2 separate regions of the Homo sapiens genome follow, and region 1 is linked to region 2. Evidence: promoter capture Hi-C in human tissues and cell types (Jung and others, 2019). All regions are on one chromosome and are shown on one strand. The core of a region is centred on a gene start or on the middle of the fragment in contact, and the rest is flanking DNA. Distances in the headings are between cores, read along the strand shown.

What was found. Contacts are between HindIII fragments. The study calls those that stand out against the background at their distance.
Region 1: a fragment that was not itself captured here is called in contact with the fragment with the promoter of ZSCAN1 in region 2 in 2 of the 25 tissues and cell types used here (dorsolateral prefrontal cortex and stomach).

What each region holds. Positions count from the first base shown.
Region 1 is chr19:58,222,471-58,225,997 of GRCh38, forward strand. It overlaps the pseudogene LOC100419847. Among named protein-coding and RNA genes, the nearest start is that of ZNF544, 4.7 kb to the right of the region's middle. The HindIII fragment of the contact is 6,243 bases long and covers 1-3,527 here.
Region 2 is chr19:58,032,176-58,035,503 of GRCh38, forward strand. ZSCAN1 (zinc finger and SCAN domain containing 1) reads left to right here and starts at 1,850. Exons shown (of 6, transcript NM_182572.4): 1 at 1,850-1,986. The HindIII fragment of the contact is 19,074 bases long and covers 1-3,328 here.

The DNA of each region.
Region 1 (3,527 bases), core at 403-2,902, 190 kb after region 2:
GACAGACGAGATTAACATTGATAAACTATCATGAACGCCTATAAAGTGCCAAAAAAGAAAAAAATATTAATTAGACAAAACACAGAAAACAAAACCTCAAATAACCAGTAAGAATATGTAAAGATCCTGAAATCACAAGTAGCTAGGGAATACAAATTACACAAAATGTTACTTTTACCCAAAATACTGGCAAAATACAAAGGATAATACCCAATGCTGGAAAGAATAGGGACTATTATTCTCACTTTGGAAAGTAATTTGGTAATACCTAAGAGAATCAAAAATACACTTATCCTTCAACTTGTGCAGTCCCACTGGAGGGGCTCTGACCTATAGAAATGAAGGCACTAATTCTGGGTGTCCGGGGGTGTTTACTACAGTATTGTTTATGTTGTGTTTGGAAATAGAGAAGAGTGTGGGAGGTGAATGCTAGGATTTTACACTGAAAGAGGTGCAGATGAGGGGGAAGAAGTAGGCTGGAGCAAATTGAAAGTGATGTCTGCTATAATTAGTTAAGAGAAAATATGAATGTAAGGTTCAATGTATGAAGTTTTTTTTTTTCTTTTTCTTTTTTTTTTTTTTTTTTTAGACAGTCTTGCCCTGTTGCCCAGGCTGGAATGCAATGGCATGACCTTGGCTCACTGCAACCTCTGCCTCCCAGATTCAATCAATTCTCCTGCCTCAGCCTCCCGAGTAGCTGAGCCTCCCGCCACCATGCCTGGCTAATTGTTGTATTTTTAGTAGAGACAGGGTTTCACCGCGTTGGTCAGGCTGGTCTTGAACTCCTGACCTTGTGGTCTGCCCACTTCAGCCTCTCAAAGTGCTGGAATTACAGGCGTGAGCTACTGAGCCCAGCCACAAGGTATGAAGTTTTTCTAGACATGTAAAAGTGAGCATGCACTTGGGCAAAAACGAGAGTCATCCAAAAATGAAAACATAAGATTTAATTTCAGGATGGGAGTCTATGTCATCTTCTATTTGAATTTTCTGTTATTTCCTGAGTTCCAACTTTTTTCCACTCCAGATAATTCATACTATAATATTTCCATAAACCTGGCTCACAGAATAAAAGTTTGAAAAATAAGTTTATTTCAATAATCATTAGAAAAATTATAGTCGGGCACGGTGGCTCATGCCGGTAATCCCAGCACTTTGGGAGGCCGAGGCTGGCAGATCACGAGGTCAGGGATTCGAGACCAGCTGATCAACATAGTGAAACCCCGACTCTACTAAAAGTACAAAAATTAGCAGGGCGTGGTGGTGCGCGCCCATAATCCCAGCTACTCAGGAGGCTGAGGAAGGAGAATTGCTTGAACCTGGGAGGCAGAGGTTGCAGTGAGCCAAGATCGCACCACTGCACTCCAGCCTGGGCGACAGAACGAGACTCTGTCTCAAAAAAAAAAATTATGGAAGTGAAAAATTGTGCAAAAATGAGTGTGTACCAACTTTCTGTCAGAGCTTCACCTTAATCATCTAATAAGAAAGCAAACAAAAGATAAACTGTATAAGCATGCCAACAATAATCTTTATTTCTGCCATGTTTTACCCTTTAATATTCAGAAGAAAAGTCATACAGGAGGAAAATTTTATAACTATAGTAAATATAGACAACTTGAACAACACTAGATCTCTACTGGCCAAAAGGAAAAAACAAAAAACAACCCCCAGTATATCCCTAAATGTACACCAGAGAATCTTAAAAGATAAAATAATTTGGCCAGGCACGGTGGCTCCCGCCTGTAATCTCAGCACTTTGGGAGGCCGAGGTGGGCGGATCACGAGGTCAGGAGATCGAGACCATCCTGGCTAACACGGTGAAATTCCATCTGTACTAAAAATACAAAAACAAAATTAGCCAGGCATAGTGGCGGGGGTCTGTAATCCCAGCTACTCCAGAGGCTGAAGCAGGAGAGTGGCATGAACCCAGGAGGCGGAACTTGCAGTGAGCAGAGATCGCACCACTGCACTACAGCCTGGGCAACAAAGCAAGACTCAAAAAAAAAAATAAAATAATTCATGTGATTATAATAAATTTGAGAAAAACTTCTTTTATAGCTCTTGCCTTTCTCAAAGGGGGAGGACTCATCCTGGAGAGAAACCCCATGGATGTATTCAACATGGTAAATCTTTTTGATGGAGCTCTCACCTAGTTGCACATCACAACTTATACCAGATAGAAAATTTATGAATGTAATCAATGTGGAAAGTTTTTCAGCCTGGTGCTCCCACCTTGTTAGACGTATACTGAAGACTCTGGGAACATCGGGAACGTCAGAGAGCTTTCAGCAGGAGATCTCATCTAATTGGGCAATAGAAAACTCATACTGAAGAAAAACAATTCCATGTAATCAATGTGAGAAATATTTCAGTGACATCCTTGATTTTAATTGGCATCAGGGAAAGTGTAATAGAGAGAAGCCTTATGAATGTAGTCAAGGTAGGAAATCTTTCTATACAGCTCTGGCCTTGTTGCACATAAAATAACTCATACTGGAAAGAAGCTTCGTGACTGTAATCAGTGTTGGAAATGGTTCAGTTAGAGTTCTCACTTGTTGCTCATCAGATAAATCATACCGGTGAGAAACTGCGAGTGTCCTGAGTGTAGGAAATCAGCTGGAGCTGATTACTTATATGGCATCAGAGATTTCACATTAGAGAGAAACCTCATGAATGTCACTGGTGTGGAAAATCCCGCAGCAAGAATTCTCACCTTATTGAACAGCAAATAACTCATTCTGGAGAGAAGCCTATAAATGTAGTCAACGTGGAAAAACTTTCAGACAGAATTATTATTGTGTATGCACCAAAAAATTCATATGGGCAAAAGCCAACATGAATGTCTAAATGTGAAAAAGCCTTCAGGAGACTATCTGACCTTATGGAACACCAGATCATTCATAATAGAGAGAAACTGTATGCATATAATCAGTGCAGAAAGGCCTTTCAGGCAGCATTCTAATCATGTCAGGCACCAGATAACTCATTCTTGAGTCAAACTGTTAATGAACTTTTTATTTATTTTATTTTATTTTTGAGATGGAGTCTCGCTCTGTTGCCCAGGCTGGAGTGCAGTGGCGTGATCTCGGCTCACTGCAAGCTCCGCCTCCTGGGTTCACGTCATTCTCCTGCCTCAGCCTCCCAAGTAGCTGGGACTACAGGTGCCCGCCACCATGCCCGGCTAATTTTTTGTATTTTTTTTTTGAGATGGAGTCTCCCTGTTGCCCAGGCTGGAGTGTGGTGACACAATCTCAGCTCACTGCAACCTCCACCTCCCGGGTTCAAGCTATTCTCCTGCCTCAGCCTCCCGAGTAGCAGGGATTACAGACACACACCACCATGCCCAGCTAATTTTTTTGTATTTTTAGTAGAGACGGGGTTTCACCATGATGGCCAAGCTGGTTTTGAACTCCTGACCTCAAGTGATCCGCCCGCCTCGGCCTCCCAAAGTGCTAGGATTACAGGCGTGAGCCACCGTGCCCGGCCTAATTTTTTGTATTTTTTAGTGGCGACGGGGTTTCACCATGTTA
Region 2 (3,328 bases), core at 600-3,099:
AATGCACACATGAGCCTTCACTGCCCCAAAGGGCCACGCCAATTTCAGCTACCAAGAAAATGAACCATGTCATTACAAGTGCCTAATTTTCAAGAAGGAGAATAATAAGCCCTTAGCACCCTAATTTGGTTTTCCCATAGTGGTTTCTGCACAAAGTGGCATTCACACACAACATTCCAGGGACCAGCCGCCAGCAGCAAAGATGCGGAGACACGGCTCTGATTATCCAGCTGAGGCAGCCCCTCCCCTCCCTGCCACTCCTGGGACTCTTAATCTCCAGGCCTCGTTTTATTTTATTCTAGGTATTTATATTTCCATGAAGCATCTGCTTTGTTTACTGGTGTTTGCCCCATGAACATGGGCTTCCAAGGGACTAAAGCCCTATCAGTCCCTCTCACTGATGTGCTCCCACCCCAGTGTCCAGAACAGTGCCTGGTACACATAGGCCCTCAATAAACAGCTGTCCAGCAGATGCTGGACCCCCTGGAGGTGGGTCCTCCTCTCTTTTCTTAGCTCACACTCTCCTGCTTCTTCTTCAGCAATGAGCAGCTTCAGCTATCCTGAGCTCAGTCCCAGAGCTGAGGACCCTCCTTGCATCATGATCTCACCCCCACCTGATTTCAGATACAAAACGAGTATCTGTGGAACCCTACTATTCTGGCACATGGTTACATTGTAGACATTAATATTAAAACTTATTTATATGAAATGTTCTTATGTAAGGTTTCGTTAAAGTATATGAAATATAGGACACATTGATACTAATTCCTTGTTTTTCTTTTTCTTTCTTTCTTTTTTTTTTTTTTTTTTTTTTTTTGAGACAGAGTCTCACTCTGTTGCCCAGGCAAGGCTGGAGTGCGTTGGCAGGTCTCGGCTCACTGCAACCTCGGCTTCCCCAGTTCCAGCGATTCTCCTACCTCAGCCTCCCGAGTAGCTGGGATTACAGGCACGCACCACCATGCCTGGCTAATTTTTGTATTTTTAGTAGAGACGGGGTTTCACCATGTTGGCCAGGCTGGTCTGAAACACCCGACCTCAGGTGATCCGCCTGCCTCGGCCTCCCGAGTTCTGGGATTACAGGCGTGAGCTATCGCGCCCGGCCTCCTTGTTTTTCTTGAGTTTACATATAACTGAGGTTTCTTTTTTCTTTCTTTTTTTTGGGGGTGGGGGGACGGAGTCTCGCTCTGTCACCCACGCTGGAAAACTGGAGTGCAATGGAGCAATCTCGGCTCACTGCAACCTCCGCCTCCCCGGTTCCAGTGATTCTCCTGTCTCAGCCTCCTGAGAAACTGGGATTACAGGCATGCGCCACCACGCCCAGGTAATTTTTGTATTTTTAGTAGAGACGGGGGTTTCACCATATTGGTCAGGCTGGTCTCGAACTCATGACCTCGTGATCCGCCTGCCTTGGCCTCCCAAAGTGCTGGGATTACAGGCGTGTCACCGCGCCCGGCCGACGTCCTGTATTTTTATTTGCTAAGAGTGGCGATCCTAGTCTGGGACATACTTGTACTAAACATATTTATATTAAAAACAATGTTTTAACATACTACTCTTGGACACTGTATAAAACGGTTGCGTGTCTGGAATGCCGTCGTTTTGCCCCGCGGCCCCATCGTACATGCGCATCCCCGCAGCCGCCACCGTCTCCACTTTCCGCAGCAGCGTCCCTGACGCTGCGCGACCCGTTGCCAAGGCGACTGGAACCGCGGCCCGAGGTAACTGGAGGGCACGGCGGGGGCGGGGCGCTCATCCCAGGCGGCTTCTGATTGGCCTCGGCCGCCTCGTGCGTCACAGCCCCGCCCCTGCCCGGGAGTCCCGCAGCGGTGACTTGTCACCGACGCCCGGCGTGATCCAGCGGACCAATGGCGGCCGCCCGCGGCGCGCAGGGTGCGGGGATGGGGTCCGCCCGCGGCGTTGGGCGCGCTCGCCAGCCCAGGGGTCGCCATGACCGAGTGGCCCAGGCCCGAGCGAAGCCCGCGCGCGGTGAGTCCGCCGCGGCCCATCCGTCCCTCCGCCCGCCAGAGCGTCCATCGGGACGCCCACCCGGGAGGGTCTCGGCGCCGCGTCGGCGGGAGCTGGCCCGGGATCGCGGTCCAGGGGCGCGCGTCGGGGGAGGCGGGCCCGGGCCCGGGAGGGGGCGGGCCGGGCCGGGGTTCCAGAGCCCATCGGGAGTCCTGAGGTCGCCGTAGGGGAGGGAAGGGGAAGGCTAGAGGCCACGCGGGGCGGGGACTGGGGGGGCTGGGGCCGCCCCTTCCGCAGGGACCCCGACCCCTGTTGGCATCCGCCTGTCCGTTTGAGGCCGAAGCCCCTCTACGTACCCCCATTGCCCGCCCAAACACCGCTCGGCCGCGTCCAAGTTCTCCCTTCCACACCTGATCAGCATCCCGGGACCTATCTCCCTCCTGAACAGCCGCCCCCGGACCCATCTCCCTCCCTACCCGGCCCCTTGGGCCCATCCCCCACTGGAACAGCAGCCCCCGACCCGTCTCTCTCCCTACAAGCTCCCCCTCCCCGCCCCAGGCCCATCTCCCTCCTGAACAGCCGCCCCCGACCCATCCCCCACCCAATCACCCCACCATCCTCCCCCCAACCAGCCGTCCACAGCCGTCGTCGCTGCCCCTCCCCTGTATTCCCAGTGCGCTGCCCTTGCACACTTCCCCAGCTCGTTTATTATGGAACTCCTCCGTGTGGCATCCTAAGCTCCCAACGCCCTCCCCACTGTAAGCCCCCTTCTCAAAGCCAGAACCATTCACTGACTGGCGCAGTGAACACGTCTTCTATGTCACTAAGCATCCGGCATCAGCGGCAAAGCCCTTCTGCCCATCCCCGCAATAGAATTTGGGGCTCGGGCTGCAGATCTCAGTGCCCATGCCAGGTGAACCTGGCCCTTCCACAGGCACTGAGCCCTCCAAGTGACACTCTCTCACACACACACATCCCCAACATTAATCAGAGACCCCTACCAAAGTAGACTTCTAGGACCCCAGGGCCACCACAGCATTGCCCATGGGGGGGCCCAGATCCTCCTCACCAGCCATGTAGACCTCAGTCCCCTTCACATCATCCCAGGCCCTCTTCATCTTCCAGAAACAGCCACCCATCAGTCCAGGACTCTCATCAGCTCAGGTACCCCCACATTGGCCTAGGTGTTCCACATCAGCCCCCATATAGACCCCAGACACACCCATGGACCTCTGGTGCCTTCTGCTAAGACCTCCTCTTTACCCTCATCCCTGATAAACTTAGCATCTCCTCCCACAGACCTCAGCCCAGGACCCTGGAGGATGCTGAGGGGCTACAGCCCCCCTCCCTAGAGTCTCCAGGG